Linked DNA regions of Homo sapiens: regions 2, 3, 4, 5 and 6 are each linked to region 1. Evidence: promoter capture Hi-C in human tissues and cell types (Jung and others, 2019). All regions are on one chromosome and are shown on one strand. The core of a region is centred on a gene start or on the middle of the fragment in contact, and the rest is flanking DNA. Distances in the headings are between cores, read along the strand shown. Region 1 holds the start of SESN3 (sestrin 3). Region 2 has its middle 55 kb from the start of FAM76B. Region 3 has its middle 76 kb from the start of FAM76B. Region 4 has its middle 93 kb from the start of FAM76B. Region 5 has its middle 190 kb from the start of FAM76B. Region 6 has its middle 260 kb from the start of FAM76B.

The links. Contacts are between HindIII fragments. The study calls those that stand out against the background at their distance.
Region 2: a contact is called between a fragment that was not itself captured here and the fragment with the promoter of SESN3 in region 1, in 1 of the 25 tissues and cell types used here (liver).
Region 3: a fragment that was not itself captured here is called in contact with the fragment with the promoter of SESN3 in region 1 in 3 of the 25 tissues and cell types used here (dorsolateral prefrontal cortex, hippocampus and lymphoblastoid cells).
Region 4: a fragment that was not itself captured here is called in contact with the fragment with the promoter of SESN3 in region 1 in 2 of the 25 tissues and cell types used here (dorsolateral prefrontal cortex and hippocampus).
Region 5: a fragment that was not itself captured here is called in contact with the fragment with the promoter of SESN3 in region 1 in 1 of the 25 tissues and cell types used here (aorta).
Region 6: a contact is called between a fragment that was not itself captured here and the fragment with the promoter of SESN3 in region 1, in 1 of the 25 tissues and cell types used here (heart right ventricle).

The regions. Positions count from the first base shown.
Region 1 is chr11:95,228,430-95,232,451 of GRCh38, reverse strand. It overlaps SESN3 (sestrin 3), which reads left to right and starts at 1,250. Exons shown (of 10, transcript NM_144665.4): 1 at 1,250-1,669. The coding sequence starts at 1,592. LOC100129203 (a long non-coding RNA gene) reads right to left here and starts at 2,266. Exons shown (of 6, transcript NR_110295.2): 1 at 1,957-2,266; 2 at 879-1,327; 3 at 276-400. RefSeq lists enhancers at 1-231, 232-871 and silencers at 1,227-1,376, 1,387-1,696. The HindIII fragment of the contact is 13,238 bases long and covers 1-3,854 here.
Region 2 is chr11:95,732,368-95,736,389 of GRCh38, reverse strand. No RefSeq gene overlaps it. Among named protein-coding and RNA genes, the nearest start is that of FAM76B, 55 kb to the left of the region's middle. The HindIII fragment of the contact is 4,246 bases long and covers 232-4,022 here.
Region 3 is chr11:95,711,695-95,715,716 of GRCh38, reverse strand. No RefSeq gene overlaps it. Among named protein-coding and RNA genes, the nearest start is that of FAM76B, 76 kb to the left of the region's middle. The HindIII fragment of the contact is 3,685 bases long and covers 456-4,022 here.
Region 4 is chr11:95,694,301-95,698,322 of GRCh38, reverse strand. No RefSeq gene overlaps it. Among named protein-coding and RNA genes, the nearest start is that of FAM76B, 93 kb to the left of the region's middle. The HindIII fragment of the contact is 3,278 bases long and covers 644-3,921 here.
Region 5 is chr11:95,601,213-95,605,234 of GRCh38, reverse strand. No RefSeq gene overlaps it. Among named protein-coding and RNA genes, the nearest start is that of FAM76B, 190 kb to the left of the region's middle. The HindIII fragment of the contact is 3,589 bases long and covers 270-3,858 here.
Region 6 is chr11:95,528,645-95,532,666 of GRCh38, reverse strand. No RefSeq gene overlaps it. Among named protein-coding and RNA genes, the nearest start is that of FAM76B, 260 kb to the left of the region's middle. The HindIII fragment of the contact is 5,707 bases long and covers 1-4,022 here.

The DNA of each region.
Region 1 (4,022 bases), core at 1-2,500:
TAGGCGATGCAAGTTATCTCTGGGGCCCGGAGGACACGAGTGAGGACCGGGCACCAATCAGGTTCTCGCTCTGCGCCGGCCTTTGTTCTCACTCGGGAGCAGGTTGCGGGCGTCTAGCATCGGGAACCCGCATTCGACTCGGACGCGCATTGCTAGCCCCTTCGGGAGACCTGGCTCCCCTACCCGTCTGTCCCGCCACACTCGGTCAGCCTGCGCTTTCCCCAGTCAAGTCTGCCTTCTCTCCGCAGAACGTGGACGCTAAAACCCTGACTTACCATTTTAAGCTTTAGAAGAGGTAGGTTTGTCCCAATAGTTTTAAACGACAATTTGTTCTCTGAACCTTCCTTTCTGAGCAGGGCGCTGTGCTCTGCATGTATCCGAACAGCTGCCTCAGGAAGGTCTTTTGGGTGAGAAAACAAGCCCCTTTGGCCTTTTAGTGCTGGACAAGTAAATGAACTTACATCTCTAAGATAACTGCTAGAAGGTGCTTCACAAACAAGAGGAAACCGCTAAACCAGAGGTTTTGTGTCTCTCCCCTCAAACTCGATTACTTGCGTAAATATATATATAACTCAGACATTTATCCCCTATCCGCCTCCCAAGCCTCAAGTAACTGAAATCTTTGCAAAACAAGGTTCACAATAAATGATGCGTAAAGTTCTTTGAGATCCCTGGATACAAAGTACTACATAACTGCAGTCTTCTTTACAGCTAAAGTTAGATTTTGGTGGAGAGAAAGCCTAACCACTGCCCTGAAGGAAGGAACATTTAATCCTCCCACTCCCCTCCCCCTTTCTCGAGAGATCAGGAAATATTTAGCTCAATCTTAGACTCTCTAGCGAGCTCTAGCTCCCAACTATTTATCTCATTCTCCTCACCACTTCTGCAGGGACCTAGAGAAGGGGGCGTAGCTTATCTTGGGGGTGGGGCTTGGAGGGCAGTATATTTGCATATGACACACCCTCGTCCTCTTATTGGCAGAGGAGAGCAAACTGTTCCCTGCTACCCTACTACTTAGCTAACCGCCACCTCCCTTCAGTTCCGAGCCTCGGAGATAAACTTAACTTGCCCGGAGATTCAAGGCTTCCTCGGCCCCTGCGATTGGCCGGCGCGACTCCCAGTCGGGCTCTCGTTGCTCATTGGCTGCGGGCTAGCGCCCTGGGGGCGTAGCCGGAGCTGTCCGATTGGCGGGAGGGGCGGTACCGGAGCGTGGAGGTGGTGAAGGTGGTGGGGCGGCGGAGGCGGGGCCGCACTGAGGCGCTGCGGCGGCGGTGGTGGCGGTGGCAGCGGTGGCGGCTGCTCGTCCTAGCCTGGCGGGGGCGGGGGTCTGGAAGATGGGGGCGGGTGGAACAACGGGCCGGTGAGGAGCAGCCGCCGCCGTCTCCGCCGTCGCTGGGGCAGCTGCCGCGGTGGTCGCCTCTGGCAGTGCCGCTAGCTTTCAGGCAGTCGCCTCTCCTCCCGACATCCCGCCTTGAGGAGGCTGAGGCGGAATCGCGGCTGGCGGCGGGGGGACGGACCGGCCCTGCAGTGGCCGCAGTGACAGCCCGGACCCGGCCCTCCGCCCGCTCTCGCCTCGGCGCCCGCAGCCACGATGAACCGGGGCGGCGGCAGCCCGTCGGCCGCCGCCAACTACCTGCTCTGTACCAACTGCCGGAAAGTGCTGCGGAAGGTACGGGTTCGGCCCGGGGTCCTGCCGGCGAGGGTCGCTTCCTGCCGGCCGGGGCTCGGGCGGCTCGTCCCCGGGCGCGCACTGGGGGAGGCTGAGAGGGATCCCCGGGCACCGTCCCTCCGCAGGGACTGAGAAAGGGGGCGTGGGTTGAGGGCAGGAGGGTTTGGACTACTGCGGCTTTTTATTTCCGCCGGGACAGACCCAAGTCTGGAGGGGTTGGGATATTTTTTCTTCCCTTGTTCCTTTTATTTGGTGCCTTTGCTCTCCTTTACGGCTCATTTCCCTACCTTGCTACCCCGGGTCGGCTCCTTGGGCGGAGGGCGGGAGGGATCCGTTCGATCCTCCTCCCTGTGCAGTTTAGCTGTTGATGGAGGTCGGTGTGAAATCAGAGCAGCTGGGTCGGATCCCGAGGAACCTGGCCCCTCTTTGCTGTGGCTAACTCTTGCGAGTGTTGTTTTTGTTTATTCGGTTGCTTCTGCCTTGCGCGCCTTGCTCAACAACCCCCGTTTTCAAATTGTTTGGATGGTAGTCCTGTGTCTGTAGTTCAGTCTCGAAAGGAACCAGTAAAGCATCTTGAACTTTATGCCCATGGGAAATGCAATTCGACCTGGCCAGTTCCTGAGGCTGGGGTTGGGGGAGGAGAAGACTGAGGTGGATGTGGGTTATTCCTCCTTAGCACCCCCCTGCCCCCGTGTTGATCCAGAAAAATGAGGCGCACCATCAGTTTATTGCTGCTTCCTAGAGTGACTGATAGAAAGTTTACTCCAGTATTGTTTAGCTTACTTGGCTTAATCGCCCCGCGGGGAAGGGCGAGAGGGATGGGGAAGGGAATGAAAAAAAGGTCTCTAGACTTTTTGATCAGATTTTAACAGCTGCCCCAAAGTAATATTATAATCAGTTTATTCGTATTCAAACTCTATTTTTACATTTTATTAAGTGGAAACGTTAGGTGAGATGCTTCTGTTTGTTCACTACAAATGAATTAAAATTGCTGAGCTGTGCAAATGCATCGGGACTGAAAGCGGAGATGAATATGGTACCGTTTTTAGTCAACATCTCTAAATACGGTTCACTTTGGGATTGTTCTTTCTACATTTTTTTTTAAAAAAGGAAGAAAGAAAAAAGCACATAAGTAAGCAAGCTCAAATATTTGCGCTCTTTGTCCAAAAACTGTTTTTCTTCCTCTGTGGGTCAGGCCAAGTGCCAATCAAAGTTGTTTTTCAAGCCTCTTTTCCCTGCAGTAGGGCTGCTGCTTTTTTTTTTCTTCCTATTTTATTTGAGAGCGTGAGAGCAAAGGGATTGCAGATTTGAGGTTAATTGAACAGTTAAATATGCCTTAAATTGTGTTTATTGGATATGTTTCTCTTGAAACAGATTTTTATTAAATGTGCATGTTGAGTATGTGCAGTTATTTTTTTCCATAAACTCTAGGATCAAATTACAGTTGATACTTGCTCAGCTCATTGTAGGGTAGCTTGTGAGAAATGTAATGGATCAGAAGTGCAGATCAGCTTAGTTGGATGTTAACTCTTTCACTGCAGGGCCAGATGTCATCTGAACTTAGCTTTCAAAAAAATTTATTTCTTAATTTTTAAATTTATGTTATGTCTTTGACATGAAAAAATGTGTCATTTAAGACATGTTTGATTAAAGTGCAGCCTGGTTAAAATGACAGCAAGTTATGCTTTTTAATTGAATAAGGAAAAAGAGCACTGTATTGACTTTGATAAAAAAATTTTTTAATGGCTCTGGCAATTTGTTAGGCTAATAAAATGTTTGGAGGTAATATTAGGCTTCAAAATGTATTTCATTTTTCTTTTGAGAGAGCTATGGCTATGGATCCATGACACTTTGCTAGCATTTAAGATATTACATCTTTCCTTTAGCTTTTAGGAAACTATTTCTGTTTACCTAGAAAGAACATCCTCATTTCTAGCCATTATTAAAAGAAACGTGGAAAAAGAGTATTCACATTTTCGTATTTTATAATTGCTGAGCACATCTCTGCCAGTATTCCAGTTTTTAGTAACTCCAAGGTATTTAATATTGATTCATGCAGTGGCATGAAATAACTTAATGGAAATAGGATTCTTTGAGCCAGTTATAACATGACTTGGCAACATTTGCAGCTTTTTAAAGAGTGCCACTTTGAAGTGCTCTTAAGAGAATCAGTATGTAGCATTTTAAATGTTTCATCATTCTTAAAATAACAATGAAAAGTTTATTTCTAATAAAGACATGTTTTTCTTGTTGATATAACTCTAAGTTAAAAGTCATCTATAACTCTCAAAATGTGATTCTTAGAGTTTATCTTGTTTTCCATTTAATAAAGTGTTCAGTAATGTAGCCAAGT
Region 2 (4,022 bases), core at 1,105-3,604, 500 kb before region 1:
ATTTGTTGGAAGATAAGTTCCTCACTAAATTCCTCCAAAGGGCTAACATGGAGGTAGTTTCATGGAAAAAAGAAAAAGTAGTTTTATGAATAAAAGGATTCTCTGGGAGGAAGAGTAGGTGGATTTGCAATAGATCATTCTCAGGGTCTGAATTAGAGAGGAAAACATAGCAACTCAACTAAAACCAGAACTGGGTGGAAAAACTGCCTGCCAGGAGGCATTTGAATAAGAAAACTGCGGCAAGAAACTACTTATAAAACTTATCTTTCCCCACCCCTTCTGGCAATTATTTTAAGGCGAAACTGTCCAGGTGATTTTCATTTCTTCTTCTGATCATTTAGTCCACTGTTTTGTAGGAAATCATTGGTTAGCTCGTTTAAGGGCTCCCTAGATCCAGGTGAACCCCACGCATCTGGAATCCTTAGGGTTGTAAAGATGCAGTAACGCAGCTGGGTGCCATAAGTGAGTTTGATGGGTCTTCTTTCAGCTGCTGCATTTGAGATGGCATAGAAAATTGTGTGTGTTTTTCCTTCTCTAATCCTGTAATTGTTTTCACTTCTCAAGACTGGGTTAATTATATAGTAGCTATTTTAGGGTTGCTTCTGACTACATAATGTTTGTGTTTGGTGTTTCTTCATTGGCTAAAAGGAAGGCTTATTCTTGGGTCCCCAAAATAAAAAGGAAAACAACAGAAGCCAAGCGTTTGTGCCATAGTGGTCACCAAATTGTACTTCGTTAAATCATCCCAATGGCTTCGTGGAGTGGTACCATGACTGTAGCTGTTTTATTTAAAATGACTGGAGGCTCAGAGTCGTCAAGTTGTTTGTCCAAAGATACACAGCCAGAAAAGTACTCCCGGTGGTACTAAGACTCATGTCTTAGAACCAAAACCCTGGGCACTCTCTACTGCCCATGAAGTTATCATAGCGCTTATGCAACAATGATCTAATTGTTAGTCTTGTCACAACATTGTGCCTAGTAAATTATAGACTTAAGAAGTAGACGAACACTTGAATTTAGGAGCACAATCTTTTTTTAGACTAAATTTTCTTTTTGTTAAAATAACTTTATGATGTCAAATAGAAGAAAAAGAAACTTTACCTCCCAATTATATTTACAGGTTTCATGTCTTTAAAAATACACAAATCATCAAGATTAGTATCAAGATAAGATCTGAACTATTACTGTTAGTGTTTTTTTTTTTTTTCTATGCTGCAACTGAAATAGCCAGAAATAACATGGAAACTTCTAACCTCCTTTCTCCACTTCACTACCACTAATCTCTGTGCCATAGGAGGGTGAGAGAATAGGATTGTGGTGGGATGGAATTAAACAAGACTCCCTTTTTCAAGCTTTGCTTGAATATTTATTTTAATAATGTTTACCATTAAGTAAATTAATCTTCTTTCTTTTTTCTTTCTTCTTTCTTTCTTTCTTTCTTTCTTTCTTTCTTTCTTTCTTTCTTTCTTTCTTTCCTTTCTCTCCTACCTTCCTTCCTCCCTTCCTGCCTTCTTCCCTCCCTTCCTCCCTTCTTCCCTTCCTCCCTCTTTCTTTCTTTCTCTTTCTCTCTTTTCCTTCCTTCCTTCCTTCCTTTCTACCTTCCTTCCTTCCCTCCTTCTTTCCTTCCTTCCTTTCTCTCTCTCTCTCTCTTTCTTTCTCTCTCTGAACCTAATAGAGCATAAGCCATTAACCTTTCCTTATGCTAATACATGTATTTTGAAATGTTCTGAAATAGCACCATACAGAGAATCATCTACTCTGATAGAAATTTTTGAACGTTTTTCAAATTCTGCTCTGTGTGTTTATTCTAGTTTGCCACAGTGCTGATTGCTGCCTCAGATCTATTCCTTGCTGTTCCCCTGCTTGAAGGGCTGATACCTGTAGGCTGTTTCCCAGGCTTATGTGTCAGTGGGCTTCAGACTGTGTGTGGCCAGTGGGAAGACCTGCAGCAGACTGAGCGGTGACAGAAATGAAGGTACCAGGGAATTTCTCTTTAATTATATATTTTTGGTGTTATCTCTGGCTAGGTTGTATATTTTCCATGGCACTAGCTCCTGTCTGACAGGCCTGCCTTGAAACTGGCTTCTGCTGAGTAACCCTGACACCTGGACTCTAGTAACTTTGCTGTCTCCCTTTATCTAGGCAGCCCAGGGAGAGGAGTGGTTCCCTGGTGTTGCTAAGGGTTTCCTCTCACCGTTTCATTTGGCTTCTCGGCTCCTTTATCATCTGTGGAACCAACTTCCTGTATTATGTATCCTCCGTTGTAAATACTTAAAGTAAATTGCATTTTCCTGGCTATACCCTGACCAAAACAGGCACTGATATAATCACTTTAAGACTGCTGAGACAAGCAGCACTGTTAAACTGTAATAAACATTGACTTACTTGATGAGAGAATTGGCTTAAACTCTGAATGAGTTCACATTTACTTTAGTGGACCAGTAGGAAAATGTATGGGCAGTGATTTTAACATGAATTCACTGTTATCTTTAAGGCAGAGCTATCGTGACTCCTTTTTTTTTTTTTTATTAATAAACTTATCTTTTTTTTAGAGTAGTTTCAAGGTCACAGCAAAACTGAGTGGAAAGAATAGTGAGTTCTCAAATAGCTCCTGCCCCCACACATGCCCATTACTTCTTTCTGATTTTCTCAAAGGAAGAAGACTTAATAAGTAAATAGCAATCCCAGTTTTGCCGTTCTATTAGTGAGGGCTTGTATTAGAGGGCAAAAGAAATGTAGCTTTCTAGAATTTTCTGCCAGATTATGTAGTAAATAATAGCTACTTCTATGTAGTAAATGCTTTGAAAAAAAAAAAAACAAAACCACAAGCCATGAATCTATTCAGCTGGAGGAATTCTGGAAACAGAGCATATGAACACCTTCAGGGTCTGAGGAAATGGAGGAGGGGTGGGGTTTGGGTTTGAGTGCTGCTTATGGGACACGGAAAGAAGCTTGAAACTCCCTTCATAATTGGGTGGTGTGTGTTTCGAGGAGGAGCAAGGGGAGACCAGATAGGCATATCTAGACACACTAAAGCAGAAGCCAAGCAGATTAACTTCTGATGGAAGAGATATTTTAGTAACTCCATGTCAAAATACAGAGGCTTTTTACATAAGAGAACACCTTGCATGTGCTAAAGAGGCACAGGTTGGAAAGCCCACAGATAGCACACTTGGGACAAGAGTGAGTGCTGAAATTCACTAGGAACAATTGGACACTAACTCTGGAGCTTTGGAGACCTGAGAAGTTCCACAGAGCAGCTATGACCTGGCATTCTGAGAGACACCCCAGACATTCATTGCCTCTTGGCCCCTCCCTCCCTCCCTCCTTCCCTCCTTCCCTCCTTCCCTCCCTCCCTCCCTTCCTTCCTTCCTTTCTTCCTTTTTTCCTTCTTTCCTTCCATTTAGCAATTATTTATGACTTTCTACTTAAGTGTCAGGCACTGTTCTAGGCAATGTTGACTTATTAATGCACAGCAGAGATTTTTTAAAAAAAGCTTTTTCCTTCATTCTGGTGGGAGAAAAAAATCAATAAATAATAATTCATTATTATATAGCATGCCAAAGGGTGAAAAGTGCTATGAGAAAATCTGGAAATAGTGAGAGTGCTAGGGTTGAGGTGGAGGATGGAGTTGGATTACATAGGGTAGAGCTCATTGAGAAGGTGACTTTTGGCAAAGACAAGAAAGCCAAGGAGTTATCCATGAGATACCTAGAGGAAGAACATTCCAGGTAAGGGGAACAGCAAATGCAAAGAGCAGAAGGCACAGTTTCTTTATAAAGTTAAACATGCATTTAGCCCGTGCCCAATAATCTCAATCCTTGGTATTTACCCAAGAGAAATAAAAACGTATGTCTACACGAAAACTTGTACACTATGTTCATAGCATCTTTGTTCATATTAGCCCCATGGGTAAATGAACTGTAATATATTCATACCATGGAATACTAGTCATTAATTGAAAGAAAAGAAAAACTATGAATACATACTATGACATGAACGAATCTCAAAAAGATTATGTT
Region 3 (4,022 bases), core at 1,049-3,548, 480 kb before region 1:
TAGGGTAAAAGAAAGCTTGAAATATCATTTGTTTTCACTTCCTACTAGGCAATTAGGTAGACCCACTCTTAAATAAAACCTCTAATTTAGTATCCTCTCATTTTCAACTCACCTACAGTGATGAAGTTCTACAGGCTCCCTATGTTAAATTATTCTAGCGTTAATAAACCTTATTTTTGAAAATTTCTTTTACTTTTAGCTAAAGTATCTTCCATTGTCTCTGGAGGTAAATGTTAAGTTTCAGTTGTAGAACTACATCAGCTTATGATACAGTTAAGAGCAAAGGTCTTGGAATCAGGCAAATGTAAGTTCAAATTTGACCTCTGCTTCTGATGAACTGTGTGATTTGAGACAATTATATGACATTTTGCATACCAGTTTCCTTTTCTTCATCTGTAAACTGAAGAAACTAACACTCATATCAAGAGAATAATGTCTGCGACCATGATATTGACCCAGTTTCTCCCCCGTAATGAGTATTTGATGTATAGTGGTTATCATTATTGTAATGTTTAAAGTATCTAATAATAATATTGGGAGGAGGAACCATGAATGTTTTGGATTTGTTCCCTTCACAGCCCTTAGTGCCATGGATATGGTAGGTACTCAGGATTTGTGTATAAATGATTAACAAAAAAGTAAGATAGTAAGAGTAAGGAGCAACCTGCTCTTCTATTAACTAGCTTCATGCCGGGGTAAATCATTTACACTTCCTGAATCTTAGTTTCCTCATGTGCAAACTGGTAGTTTTATAAATGCAAAACTGGTAGTTTTGCACTTGGATATTTATGATGAGTATTTAATTTGTTCTTTCAGGTCTCCAGAGAAGGAAGTTCTTTGGGCAAAATTTTTGAGTTTAAGAATTATTTCTTAATGATAATCTGATTTTTCAAAGCTTTCAGGTATTCTCAGCAAACTAGCGCAGGAACAGAAAACCAAACACTGCATCTTCTCACTCATAAGTGAGAGTTGAAAAACGAGAACACATGGACACTGAGAGGGGAACATCACACACTGGGGCTGTCAGGCAGTAGTGGGCAAGGGAACGGAGAGCATTAGAACAAATACCTAATGCATACGGGGCTTAAAACCTAGATGATGCGTTGACAGGTGCAGCAAACCACCATGGCACATGTATACCTATGTAACAAACCTGCACATTCTGCACATGTATCCCAGAACTTAGAGTAAAAAAAAAGTTTTTTGAGAAGAGATATCAGAAATATTGTCATATTTTCTTGATTAGAGTCGAGATAAAAAGAAGTAAATGTTGAGTGTCTGCTCCCTTTGGTATTATCTTATGGACAGCATAGGACCAGGATTGAATCCTGATGACCACACTGGAAGAAGAAGTGGAAAATGAGGTGAAGGAGCCCAATTCTAGAACAGTTCAATTTCATTTGTTATTCTGGTGATTAATGTCTTCAGCTTTATACCTGGAGTGTTTCCAAAGCTTTTCACTAGATGCTCACCTTGACTCTGCCCAATATTCTCAACCTCAGCTAAATAAAACTAGTTTTTGACACCTAAAGAAATGGAACTTGTAAAACGTGGACATAATTCTACTTAAAGAGACAATGATAAACCCATACTTACATTCATTTAACTGTATTGATTTTTTTCTCAGAATTTAAGTGGGTTGAGGCAAAGAGGTATGTGACAGGGAGGAAGGGGAAAATCTTCTGGGGCACTTATATGCTTTTTAGAGTTTCTTTCTATACCTAACTCTTCTCTGGGGTGCTGAGGGTTCCAAAATAAATATTAATTACATCACAAAATTCTAAGAAGATGAATTTTTTTTGTCAGGTTCACCAATGGTCACTTTGGATTCCCAAAGAACACAGTAAACTTTAATTAGGTGATTAAACCATTAGGTGAAAAAGGAGTATTTCAGTATTAGAATAATCTTCTCATCTGATTCCCCAATCAACAAGCCATATGGAATCAACATACCAATATTGACTCTAATACATATTAGTCAGAATATAAAGTTGAAAGAGGTAAATAAGACTACCTCCCTAGGTGTGTATGTGGACTTACAGAACCTAGTTATATGGTGGTATTATACAATGGAATTACGTCACATTTATTCATTTTTGATGGGCAGGTGGCATTCCTTAGGCTTTTGAGTAGACTACATTGTAATGTGGGAAAATCGTTTGTCTAACTTCATTAATTGACAGCACTAATGAGAATACAATTCAGGTTGGTTGGTACAGTTTCACAGTTTTGCTCTATTAATGCTGGAATCATATCTTTATATTTGGCAGTTTTACTCCGAGCCAATGACATCAGCAAAAAGTTCATCCTAAAAGAAATTTCCATGTTGAATCAAATAACTGTAAGAATGTTATTTCTTCTTAACTTCCTAAATTTTGTGCCAATGATTCCATTGGATATAGAGGAAAGAGTCTTTCCTTTGAGAGCTTTCTTTCTACAAACATTAAAAACATACAGTCCAGGAAATCCTTTTAGTACAAACCAGTGGAAGGTGATATAAATGAAAATAAGGGGAAATAAAATAAAAACAGTGGGTGGAATCTGACATATTTGTTTGCTAAAATAACATAGATAGTTATGAATGGCACAATATTATTCAAATTTTACAAACATTTAATATCTTTATCACATAAATCATCTTATTTAATGTTTAAACTTGGGAATTAGCTCTTATTGTCCCCCCTTTCCTTGAAGATGAGGAAATGGAGCAGAGAGGTTAAGTAACTGTCTGAAACAAAGAGCTAGTATGGGTGAGAACCCAAATTCAATTCCAGTTCCATCAGACTGTAGTCCAGTGGTTTTTCCTATTTTGCTGATGGTTCTAACATTTTTTCCTCACTCAGTGCACCTGATAATTTGTGTCTGTCAGCAGCACTGTGCCTCTGGAGGGGTGGGAAGGTGGGAGGTTTCCCTTAAGGGCCCATCAGCATCTATGGATGGGTGGGTATGTGTAGTTTGGGAAAGATGCCAGGGACAATTCCATTTTCCCACCACCCACTTTGGATTCCCAAAGAACACAGTAAACTTTAGTTAGGTGATTAAGTCATAGGTGAAAAAGGAGTATTTCAGTATTAGAATAATCTTCTCATCTGATCCCTAATCAACAAGTCATATGGAATCAACATACCAATATTGACTCTAATACGTATTAGTCAGAACATAAAAGTTGAAAGAGGTAAATAAGACTACCTCCCTAGGTGTGTGTGTGGACTTATAGAACCTAGTTATATGGTGGTATTATACAATGGAATTGTATAATTGACATTCTTTGCATTATCCCACACTCTACCATTTTGGTTTGATTTTATTCTATTGACTTTAGCACAGAACTTCTCCCAGCTTTCCTGTTTAATATCTCTGTGTTATGTGTTTTTGCACACATTTATCAAGCAATTAGTTTCATGGAATATTTCTCAGTCGGCACATTTCCTTTGTTCAGAAGTATATCTCAGAATATATGGGGCAAGAAACTCTTACCACAGAGTTATATTAAGCTTTAATTAGGATAAAACATCAATTCGGGCGTTACTATGTGAAGCTGGAAATCTCTCTGTCACATCTCTGTATTTCTCCTCTTGTGAGCGTCCTTGACCTTGCTTGCCTGTAATGGCTTAATATTACAGGAACCATTTTGCTTGGGCTCATTCTGATACCCATGACTCAACTGCTCCCTAATATGCTTCAGGAGGAGGATTTAATCACTTTCACTACCTCCTACCCACAGGTCTTTTTGTCTTCTAGCCACAGTTATCTCTAGTCTCCCTTGAGGGTCTCTACCCAGCCATTTTCAGCATCCACCACAACTCTACCCCTTTGCCTGTGATACTCTGGTGTCCCAGCCAAGTGACATGCACACTTAATATTCTGTTGTGCTTTATACAGGTTGCCTTAGTTTTCCTTCATGGTCCCTTCTAAGTCATAACTCGTTTTTTCTCAGTAACAAAATGAGCTGGTGAGTTTTGTGATTTTGAATCAGGCATGAGAAATACACAATATTAGGCTATTAGGACCATGGAGCTTAC
Region 4 (4,022 bases), core at 1,033-3,532, 460 kb before region 1:
TCATTTATTACTGCTGCCTCTTCCACGCACTCATACCCAATCAGTAATCAAGTTCGTTGTTTCTGCCTTCAAAATAATTTTCATATTTTTCCCCTTCAGTTGCCATGGATACCGTAAAATTTCCCTTTTTGCTTCATGCCTGGACAACTGTGGTAACTTCCCGAGTCTCTCGGCTCCAATCTGCCTTGCAGACAGCTGCTGCTGGAATAATTTCTTTTGCCATGTCATACCCCTGCCCAGAACCCTGCAGTGGCTCCTCACTGTTCTTACTTAAAACCCAAATCCTTTAAAGAAATTTGCATGGCCTTCTATAATCTGACCATATTTAAAGAATCCCTGCTAATTTACACGATGACTTTGTGCAAAATTGAGAAGTCACCCCCTCTGGGCATAGGAAGCCTTGCGATTTAAGGCTCAGCTAAAGAATCAAGCCTTTTTGCATTCTAAAAGGTGGTCTCATCCTTAGGGTGTACCCTGTCCTGCTGTAGAGTACACAGGGCCCTTAGAGAGCAGGGCAAAGGCTGTTTTTCAGCCTCCAACCACTCAGAGGTCCTAGGAGTAACCCTCACGGCCATAGGCAGGCCCTGCAGCCTTCCTGTTCAACCTGATTTCTTTTTGCATGGAAGCTCAATCCTTCTCTCGGACAACTTTGCTTTCCCTGAACAAGCTGTACTTAAGTTTACCAGAGTCCCTTGACTCATGTTTTTTGCATTTCTTGAAATACACTTCTGTTTCTTCATAGCTGGATAATTCTTGCTTGCCCTTCAAAGTTCACCTCCAATGTTACTCCTGTGGGAAGCCTTTTCTAACTCCATCGTCTGAAAAAAAATGACCTTCTTAGTTCCTATAGCAGTGTGCATACTCAGTTGTAGTACAGAGGAGTCAAATTTGATAACCTACGATGCAGATGGGCCAGAGTATGTACTTTTCAAATTTTGGGTGGCTGATTTTATGTGGCTCTGGATTTTAAGGTAACTCTGTGTGTTTTGGATAAATAATCTGACACTTCAAATGTTCTAACTGCCCTCTCTAGGGAGTAGATAGAGTCTGGAAGCAAGGGAAGGTTTGCGTGAATTAATGGTATCCAGGAAGCAGGGGAGAGGTGGGCAATTTATGTGCTGTCCTTCTTTGCTTGCTTCTGGGGCTCTAGTTAAGCTCATCCCACCTGGTCTTTGGGAGTCAGCCTCTATTTACATTAAAGCTGCTACTGAGCAGCGTATGGCTGTTGTAACTCCACTCAGGTTGTATTCTTCCAGGATGGGTGAGGCATGATGATGGCTCTTGTGATATGATTACACACACACACACACACACACACACACACACACACACACACACACACACACACACAGGTTTTCATATACAGTTCCTAGCTCAGAAACCTCATAATCTTTGTTATATTCTTTTGTCACAATGTTGGGGTACTTTAGGCCTTAGGAACAGGCCTCAGAAAATGGAATCTCTCTCTCTGACCTTCTCCTGCCTTCTTTTCACCTGCCCAAGGCAGGACTCTCATCTGATTGTGGGTCATGAGAACCTCATTCCAGAGTGGGTTCTACCCCATACTCCGCAGGAAGGAATGCTGCACAGAGAGATCCAGAAAACCCTGAGCAGGCAGGCCTTGCTGGGTTTATTCAGGTCATATCCTTTCTGTACAGTCACATTGTGACACAGTTGTCCATGCTTCCAGACCTTCCCTATGTATCTCTTCATTTGGCTGTTTATTTGTATTCTTTAAAATATCCTTCATAACATACCAGTAAATATGTTTCTGTAAGTTCTATGAGCTGCTCTAATAAATAAATCAAACCCAAAGATAGGGTCATGGGAACCCCAACTTGAAGCTGATCGGTCAGGAGTTCTGGAGGCCTGGACTTGAGGCTGGTGGGAGAAGGGGGCAGACTTGTAGGACTGAGCCCTCCATATGTGATATCTGTTGCTGTTTCTGGGTACATAATGTTAGAACTGATTGGAGGATACCCGGGGAAAAACCCCCACACTTTGGTCACAGAAGTCTTCTTCTGTGTTGATGATTGTTGTTGTGGTATGAGGGCAGAGGAAAACATGGTTTGCGTGTTGCTCTGAAACAGTATCCAAAGTGTTTGGCCATCACCTCTTGTTGATCAGGCCCCACGCTGGCTCTCGCGGTGCTTCAGATTCCCAGTGACTCCATTCCATCCCCAGCTTGGCCCATCGTTGCCTTGAGTAAGTTCACCAGCCAGCACTCATGGTCCACATTCCCGGAGGCATTCAGGAGCTTCTGGACTCCTTCCACATCATATGAGCACCATGGGAGTCAGTTGTCCCATAGCAGGCCTGTCTCTGTGGACACTTCCCTTTGTTGTTCTACCACTCCAAGGCCAGCTTGGATAGCCTAGGAAAGCAGGGCACTAGCATGGAAAAAATGCTTGTGGGTTCTGTCTCAATGTGCCTGGAGTTTTGTGGCAATTTCTGCTGCTGCAAAACCCTCCAGTCTCTATATACCTGGCCCCTGTGCTGGGGATAAACTCAGGGACTCATGATCATCTTCTCCCTTGTCTAGTCTTCTGTAGCTCTCCCTGTCTGATTTCTATCCCTCAAGTCAGAGGTCCTTTCCACTTTATTTTTACTCCTTGGATAGATGGCAACTTCCCTTAAATCATAATCCTTAAATTTCTCTAAAGAAAAATTTTTGTCTTTATTATCTAAGCTTTACTTGAAACTCAGACAATTTGGAGGTTTATCTTTACTATCTAAGGTTCACTTAGACAGTAAAGATAAGAGCTTTACAACATAGTAATATAATATAATATAATATAAGCTTTACTATCTAAAGGTTATAGTAAAATCATATGTTTCAAATTTCAAGTTTTGCTCCTGATATGGAAAGAGAAGTTGTTTACCTTTAGAAGTACCTTGATTTCTGAGAAAACCCTGGTTTTCATGACCACAGCTTTGCCATGGGCCTCATGATTCTCTGTTGCAAATCAAATGCTGAATGGTGGCCTTTTCTTTGCATTCTAGTTAAAACAAAATCTTCCTAGAGGTAACAGTGTATCTGGTTTAGTAGAGCACAGCCTTATGCAAGGAAGAGTGAAGAAAATCATTAATAAATTAAAAAATATTATCCACTGCCATAAAAACTCTTAAACTTTTATTGTAACCACAGGTTCACTGGACTGTCATTCCTTCTTAACTGAAAGTCTTCCAGGGGACTCTCTCTTACTCAACTTTGTGTCCTAATATAAGAAAAACAAAAGCAAGGTTTAGGGCCACCTTCTATCCTCTTCTGGTCCAATGGAGAAGACAAGAGAGGATCTCAAAGGCAGGGAACAGCACATACAAGGTAGAGAGGATAGATGAGCATTATTCTGGAAGCTTCTGAGTTCTTAAACAATTGAGTTCTACAGTGATTGATCAGGCAAGAATTTCCAGTCCTGCAAGTGGATATCCATAAAGGCAAGGACTAGATGTATGCTTTGTTGCTTCAGGCTGCTAAGAAGAGAAAACCATACAGCTCTCATTTTTATGGAGCTGGCTAGGAATAGTGCTGGCCCTTATGAATAATACCATACGTTCAAGGATTGGGATGTCCATGTGTAAGTAATAATAATAGTACAACAGCTATCAATTACTGAGCTCAGTACTATGTGCCAAGGGCTCTTCAGAAAGCTTCACATATATTAACTCATTTAATCCTTACCACAGTGCTATAAAATAGCTTCTGTTATTAACTTCATTTTACAGAGATGGAGCTAGAGGTGCACAGAGATGAGCTGATTTTTCTAAGGTCACACAACTAGAAATTAGCAGAGCTACAATGTAAACACAGGGAGGGTAACTTCAGGGCCACTATTCTGTATCTCTAACCCAACAATCCTGCGGAGACAATTCAAACATATTAGTTGTGCCTAAATTCAAAGTATTGCATTATAATAAAGCTATAAATCTATTTTCTATTTCAGGCTTATAGTCCTCAGCGAATTGCAGAAAGAATCTGGTGAACAAAAGAAGAACAACCTTGTTTCAAGTAGCAGATGTGC
Region 5 (4,022 bases), core at 815-3,314, 370 kb before region 1:
TAGAGAAGAGAAAAACTAGCTTAGTGAACCAGTCATTGTCTAAGTAGATTTCACCATTGTATCTAAATATTTTGGAAGCTTAGAAATAAAGTCTTCAACTCCTTTGCAAATATTGGTTTTAGTGAATAAAGGATAACATTTATACTGTATTTTATTCTGAAAGAAAAATCCTCTTTGCCACATTCATGTGTAGAAGTATTGCTTGGACATATATGAGATTATGTCATTGGACAACCTCTAGGGCTGCCAATGCCTCTGCAAAAGCATGCCTGGAGAAATGTGTGATGTTTTCTCCACATTAAATTGATCCTTTTAGGGTTAATTAAGAATTTAAGGACCAGCCATTTCCTTTAAGCCTAAAGGGATTTATGTATCCTTCAGAATTTCAAGACAGACTATGCCCACCAAAGGAACACTATAAAGGAAATTTTCCCAACAGTCCTGGCTTTGGGAGCAAAGCTTCTATATTTTAAGATTATTTTTAAACCCAAAATATAACTGTTATCAGTGAGCTATTTTTTCTGGATGACATATAAAAGTAGAGGCAAGTGGGGTGCCCCTCAGAGAAATAGCAACTCAAAGTAAGGAGAAACGTACTCCAAAGTAGAGGCATGCAAGAAAAAAATGACAGATAAAATCAAAACATGGGAGTTAAAACATCTGAGAGATAATAAGGAAAAAATATGGTGGTGTGAGAAACATGGGCAACATGTTAGACTTCTCATTGATTGTTATAATTTAGCAGTAATTGTGACTTGCTTCAGTGTGTGCAACGAGCTGAGTGTTTTCAGAGAACATTACCAATATTCAAAAAGAATTAGCTATTATTTTTCAGTGCCTCCTTTGGGTGAAGAAACTAATACACATTAGTTCTAAATCTCCTGCTAATCTTGAAAGTGAGAATCATTTTCTTTATTTACTAATCTAGGAAAGAGACTAAAAAAAGTAAGCAATAAGTAAGTCATGAGGGCTCATCTTAAGCATATGTCACTTGTGCTGTATGGATTTTATGAAATTACTGACACTTTCATATTTCACTTCTCAACAAACGCCACATTCTCTATTTCATTGGTCCTTCAATTATCCATAGTTTTAGGACGATTACTTGAGCCCAGGAGCTTGAGGTTGCAATCTGCAGTGAGCTGTGATCCATGCCACTGCACTTTAGCCTGGGCAATGGAGTGAGACCATGTGTCAGAAAAAAAAAATGTCAAAATTGGTAAGTTAATACATAGCAGAATCAAAATGTAGAAGTTTTAGAAGAAAGGGATGACAAGTTTACATTAAAAACATTTTTAGATGAAAAACATAAAAACTTAAAAAAGAAAAAAAAACTGTAATTTTTATCACAAAGTGATACTCTCCTGATGTGTAAATTTCTCTTTCCCTTAAGGAAAGCTAAAAATCCTCATAAAGAATCAAATTTATGAATAAATAGTTCAAAAATAACTATAAATGATTTCTAAGCATATGAAAGTATGCTAAACTTTTCAGATAGTAGGAGAAATATAAATTAAACCCAAGATAACACTTTGACAATTGACCATTATCAAAAAATGTGATAACAATCTGTAGACAAGATTGTAGAGAAAAAATTGTTCTAATATTTCTAATGGAATTGTAATTGATATAACCTCAGTGGATGACAATTTGACAGCAATTATTAAATATAAAATGCACATGATATTTGACACAAATTCTATTTTCAAAAATATATCCTACTGATATATTTGAATATATGTGCAGTAATATATACATAAGAATATTGATTGCAATGTGTTTTTGTGAGAGCAAAAGATGGAAACGAACTAGTCATAGAGTTTGTTTAACTAGTCGAACTAGACTAAATGTTTAGTTCATTTCCAAACTTTTGCTCTAGATTTTGTACATCTGCATTTATTTTCTATTAGAAATATACAGTTTTTTTTTTTAAAAGAAGAATTTGGTGGAAGTAAAAATGCAGCCATTTAAGCATATTGCTTAGAAATGTGAGGGTCAATACCAGGTTTAAAAAAAGCTGGAAAAGGTGAAAGTGATTGCCTCTTGAAGGTGAAGAGGGCTAGAGCTCTTTTTTATTATGTTTATTGTGTTTATTATGAATTATTTTATTATTATGCTATCTTTTATTATGTCTTTGAGTATTTTTAAAATTTTGCTCTTATGTGCAGATATTAGTTTGATAAAAATACCAATTAATTTGAAGGAATTCCCAAGGTCAAAATGTTTTACCATCCTTACTTTATTCCTTCCTTCCTAGCCCCACATCATACTTCTCTGTAATGTATATGCTTATTCCCCCCACCCATCCCTCCAAAAAAGACAACTGGGTTTTGTGATTTGATTTTATCAGTCCCTCTTTATTCTGTATAAATGTAATTTATTTGTTCAGAATATGAATGCTTCTATCAGTGTTTACAAAATCAATGTGGAACACCCTCAAGCTTAAACTCACCTTTTAGAAGCTGCATTGTCATCAGGATAGTGTTATTCTTAGCAAAGACCCATCTTTCCCTAAAAAAGACCTCAGAGATTATCTGATTATCTGAACATACCTTGTATCTTATTACCAAAGCTTCTTCTCCAGATACAAAAATGTTGTTCTTGTAAGAATATTATTTCCAAAATAAGGTTTATCTTGTAAAGAAGACCTCCTTTGCTCCACTCAATATTCATTGAGAAGGTAATGTGAGGACCTCATCCTCAAATCTCCTTAAAGAAGGGAAATATTTGTGGTTATTGTTGACTAAAGACTGTAGGAGAATTCACATTGTTCAGAAGCTGTTTTGATCCTTAAAAATGTAGTGGATATCCATAATAATGATACGCTGAAAATAATACTTTATTATTTGTTTTTACTCTACAAACATTTGATAAGTTATGTGCTGACTGTTGATATGGTCTGAATGTTTGTGTCCCACCAAAATTTATACGTTGAAATCCTAACCCTCATGATAGTAGTATTAGGAGGTGGGAGCTTTGGGAGGTTGTTAGGTCATGGAGGCAAAGCCCTCATGAACGGCGTGAGTGTCTTTATGAAAGAGCCAGAATGAGACCCTTCACTATCTCCACCATGTGAGGACACAGCAAGAAATAGGCAGTCAAATCTGGAAGACAACCCTCATCAGAACTCAACCTCATTGGCACCCTGATTTCAGACTTCTAGCATCCAGAACTGTGAGAAATAAATTCCTGTTGTTTCTAAGCCACATAGTTGATGGTATTTTGTTAAAGCAGCCCAAATGGACCAAGACAGGTGCCCTCTCTGTGCCAGGTAAACTGGGATATAATTTGAATAAAGGATATAATCTCTTAATAAATCAATCAATATTTAGAGACTATGTCTGCTAAGAGGAATAAAAAAACAAGGAAGGAAGAAAAAAAGAAAGGAAAGAAGGAAGGAAAACATATGAATTTATTGCCTACTATGTACAGGGAGCTCATGTGCTTTTCTACATTATCTCCCGAATGCTCTCACAATAAGCCTGGAAAGTCTATTATAAAGTTTAATATATAAACAGATATGCTAGAGGAACATACCACACACACACACACACACACACACACACACACAAGCACACACCACACACACATATACATACACTCTTCCAAGTTAATTGAAAAAAGTATACAAAAGCAAATATATCTATATATATGTCTACACAACACCACACACATTCACATATACACACATACATATATTTTACAAGTTAATGGAAAGAGCATATGTGTATATATGTAAATATATATTAACTTGAAAGAGTGTGTGTGTGTGTGTGTGTGTGTATTAAAATATAGTATTTAGTGTACAATGAATAGGGCAGACAGAAATTCAGGAGAAAGCTCATTAATTAGAGAATAGAAAGAGATAACATACTAATGTTTTTGAGTAGCAGGAACTTCACGTATTTTATCTTATTCTACTTTCTAAGTAACTCTGCGAGGGAGGTATTATTATTCTCATTTAGAAAAGTTGAAACACAGGTAGTTAATGATCACCTAGGAATTTAAATTCATACCTGTGT
Region 6 (4,022 bases), core at 593-3,092, 300 kb before region 1:
ATCATGCTAATTTATTTACTTATGACAGTAATCTTATGAGGAAGGTACAATAATTACTAATGCCATTTGATACACGAAGAAACTGAAACTCAGAAATAATCCATGTAAACATTTAGAACAGTGCCTAGCACATATACTAATAAAGGCTAGGGAATATTATTGTTAATTATATTTTTAGCATTGTTAACTTGTCTGAAGGACCTAACTAATAACAACAGAGTTAGAATTCCACCCCAGTACAGTCTAAACTTGTAAACTGTAGGCAGTAATTTCTCTCAATTTGACTGAAACCACTGGGATTACTCAATTTCTACCGCATCTCGCATTATATCTTTACGCATCTCACTTATGTTACCACCACTGTTTTCTTTTCGGTTTTTTGTTTTGTTTTTGTTTGTTTGTTTGTTTGAGATGGAGCCTCACTCTGTCGCTCACGCTGGAGTGCAATGGCGCATTCTTGGCTCACTGCAACCTCTGCCTCCCAGGTTCAAGTGATTCTCCTGCCTCAGCCTTCCCAGTAGCTGGGATTACAGGCATGCACCACCACGCCTGGCTAATTTTTGTATTTTTAGTAGAGACAGGGTTTCACCATGTTGGCCAGACTGGTCTGGAACTCCTGACCTCAGGTGATCTGCCCGCCTTGACCTCCCAAAGTGCTGGGATTACAGGCATGAGCTAGCACACCCAGTTCTTTTCTTTATCTATAGTTTTCAAATTTCCTTCAATTTATAACCTGATAATAAAATAACTAATGTTTATGTAATATATATGGGAATGACAAAATGCTCTTACATTAATTACATTTAATATTTATTTCAAACTTCATTACAACTTCAGAGGCAGGTATTCTTAATTATAACACTATTTTAAAACTGAAATTCAGGGACAAGCCAAAAACCACATGGTTAGGAAGGGGTTGAGATATAACTCAAGCCCAGTGCTATTTCCACCATCCTGTGGTGCATCCGTAACCCACATCTCACTTTCATATCTTCCCTATAGCTCTCTGGGCTCATAACTTTCCTCTCTTTGGATCTCCTGGCAGAATATAAAGGACTTGAGGGAGAGAAGTTGGGGGGAGTTGGGGGAAGGTCCAGCAGATAAAATGGTGCCTCTAGAATTACAGATCCTTTCTAAGGGCTGTTGATCCATTAAAGATGTGTTGGAAATTCTGCCATATAATAGCACATTGCCTTAGTCCATCTGTGTTGCTATAAAAGAATACTTAAGAATGGGTAATTTATAAAGAAAAAAAAAGTTTGTTTGGCTTCTGGTTCTGCAGGCTGTACAAGCATGACACCAACATCTGGCTTTGATGAGAGTTTGAGGCTGCTTCCACTCATGGTGAAAGGGAAAATGGAGCCAGTATGTGGAAAGATCGCATTGCAAAAGAGGAAGCAAGAGAGAGGAGGAGGTGCCAGGCTCTTTTTAACAACTAGCTCCTGGGAGAACTAATAGAGTGATAATTCAGTCCTCTTTCCCCCTGGTGGGGAGTATTAATCTGTTCATGAGGTATGTATTCCCACGACCCAAACGCCTCCTCTTAAGCCTCATCTCCAACACTGGGGATCAAATTTTAACATGCGGTTTAGAGGGTCAAATATCCAAACTATAGCACACACCTTTCTCCTTTTGCTTGTGTCTTCCATGGAGTCATGTTTTGAGGTCTATTGAAGAATGGAGTGGTTGGGAGCATGGAGAAAGATAGGTGGCTTAGAAACAAATTAGACATGTAGGGGGTTGTTGCAACAGATTTCATTCAAGAGAGAGACTACAAAGGCAGAGACAGTTGAGATAAAGAACAGGGGAATAGAAGGATATTTAGAAGACATATTTGACCCAACAAACAGTGCTGTGTGTGTGTGTGTGTGTGTGTGTGTGTGTGTGTGTGTGTGTTTGTGTGTATTTGAAAGAGAAAGTTAGAAGAGGGGTCATTAATAACAGTGATGCTGCCAGGTTTCTGATTTGAAAAACCGGATAGGTCATTTTGTTTACAATCAAGGTTAAGGAAAAAAAAGTTTCAGGGAGGATGGAGTAGTGCATGGTAGAATGCTAAAGAGCAAACAAAAAAAAAAAGATTGTATCAGTGTAATTGGATTTGAAAATTAGAAGGTAATTAATGGCTTTGGAAAAATAGCTGTCACAGATAGAGAGAGAGGTGAGCGGAATAGTGGAGTGGGATGGCTAAGCTGATAAATTATTTGGAAATGAGAAGTAGAGAGACCATTTATGCAGTGACACTGTGGAAAAGTCATGGAATATGAAGAACCAATTCCAAAACCTGGTACTGCTTACTTGCTTGCTATGCGGCCTTTGGCAAATCACTTTACCCACTTGAGTCTGTTTCCTAGAAGATGAGCAACAGTTTGCTCTATTCCTTTTCCTGTGATTTATTTCCTCATTGTGTGTCAGTGGGTAAAACCATGGCTAAAATTGATGCTTTTTTTTTTGCTTTTTGAAATTGATTTCCCTGGCCCCCCACCACCACTCAAGCAACGGCATCTTCCAGTCTAAATCATCTGATATTTATTTGAGAATTGGTACAATGATGGCTAAATGTTGTAAAAATATATAAAACTACCATGGTTATACATGGAGAGACTGCACATCAGTAAAACCTTATTTCTAATCATCCCATGATTGACAGATTAAACTTGTCATTGAAAAAGTTAATGCACATAATTAGTAGATGTATATAAAACTGTAATGTATTTTCTTCTTTGGCACCTGTTAAAATGTTTTTAAAAAGCATTTGTGATTCCTTTAAAAGATATTAAATGAATAGAATGTCTTTCATCTTGCATTTTCTAAAATATTAAACTTTATTGAGTACTAACAATGTGAATATTATAAAATTATTTATTTTATATAAATAAAATGTACAGAAATACGGGATCAGCTCCCATTTAATTTCAGGTCAAGATACTAAGTAGGGACTATATTTGATATTTCTTCTATATCCCTTTTCAATTTAATTCAATAATAAAAATTACCAAAATTTATTTTTAATATTCACAAAAACCTTGGGAATAGACTTAATTGTCTCCATTTTACCAGGCAAGAAACCAAGCTTTAAAAAACAGCAAAACAAATTTAAATGTCCACTGCATGGAAGCACATGCATGCAGGTCAAATCAATATTGTAAAAATGACCATACTACCAAAAGCAATCTACAAATTCAATGCAATTCCCATCAAAATACCACCATCATTCTTCCAGAGCTAGAAAAACAATCCTAAAATTTATATGGAACCAAAAAAGAGCCCACATAGCCAAAGCAAGACTAAGCAAAAACAACGAATCTGGAGGCATCACATTACCTGACGTCAAACCATACTATAAGATCATAGTCACCCAAACAACATGGTACTGGTATAAAAATAGGCACATAGACCAATGGAACAGAATAAAGAACCCAGAAATAAAGCCAAATACTTACAGCCAACTAATCTTTGACAAAGCAAACAAAACCATGAAGTGGGGAAAGGACACCCTATTCAACAAATGGTGCTGGGATAATTGGCTAGTCACATATAGGAGAATGAAACTGGATCCTCATCTCTAACCTTATAAAAAAACAACTCAAGTTGGATCAAGGATTTAAATCTAAGACCTGAAACTATTTAATTCTATAACATCAGAAAACCTCTTCTAGACATTGGCTTAGGCAAAGGCTTCATGATTAAGACCCCCAAAGCAAATGCAACAGAAACAAAGATAAATAGGTGGAACTTAATTAAACTAAAGAGCTTCTGCCCAGCAAAAGGAACAGTAAGCAGAGTAAACAGACAACCCACAGAGTGGGAGAAAATCTTCACGATCTATACATCTGATGAAGGACTAATATCCAGAATGTACCAGGAACTCAAACAAATTAGCAAGAAAAAAAAACAATCCCATCAAAAAGTGGGCTAAGGACAGAAACAGACAATTCTGAAAAGAAGATATACAGGGGCCAACAAATATGAAAAAATGGTCACCATCACTAATGATCAGGGAAATGCAAATCAAAACCACAATG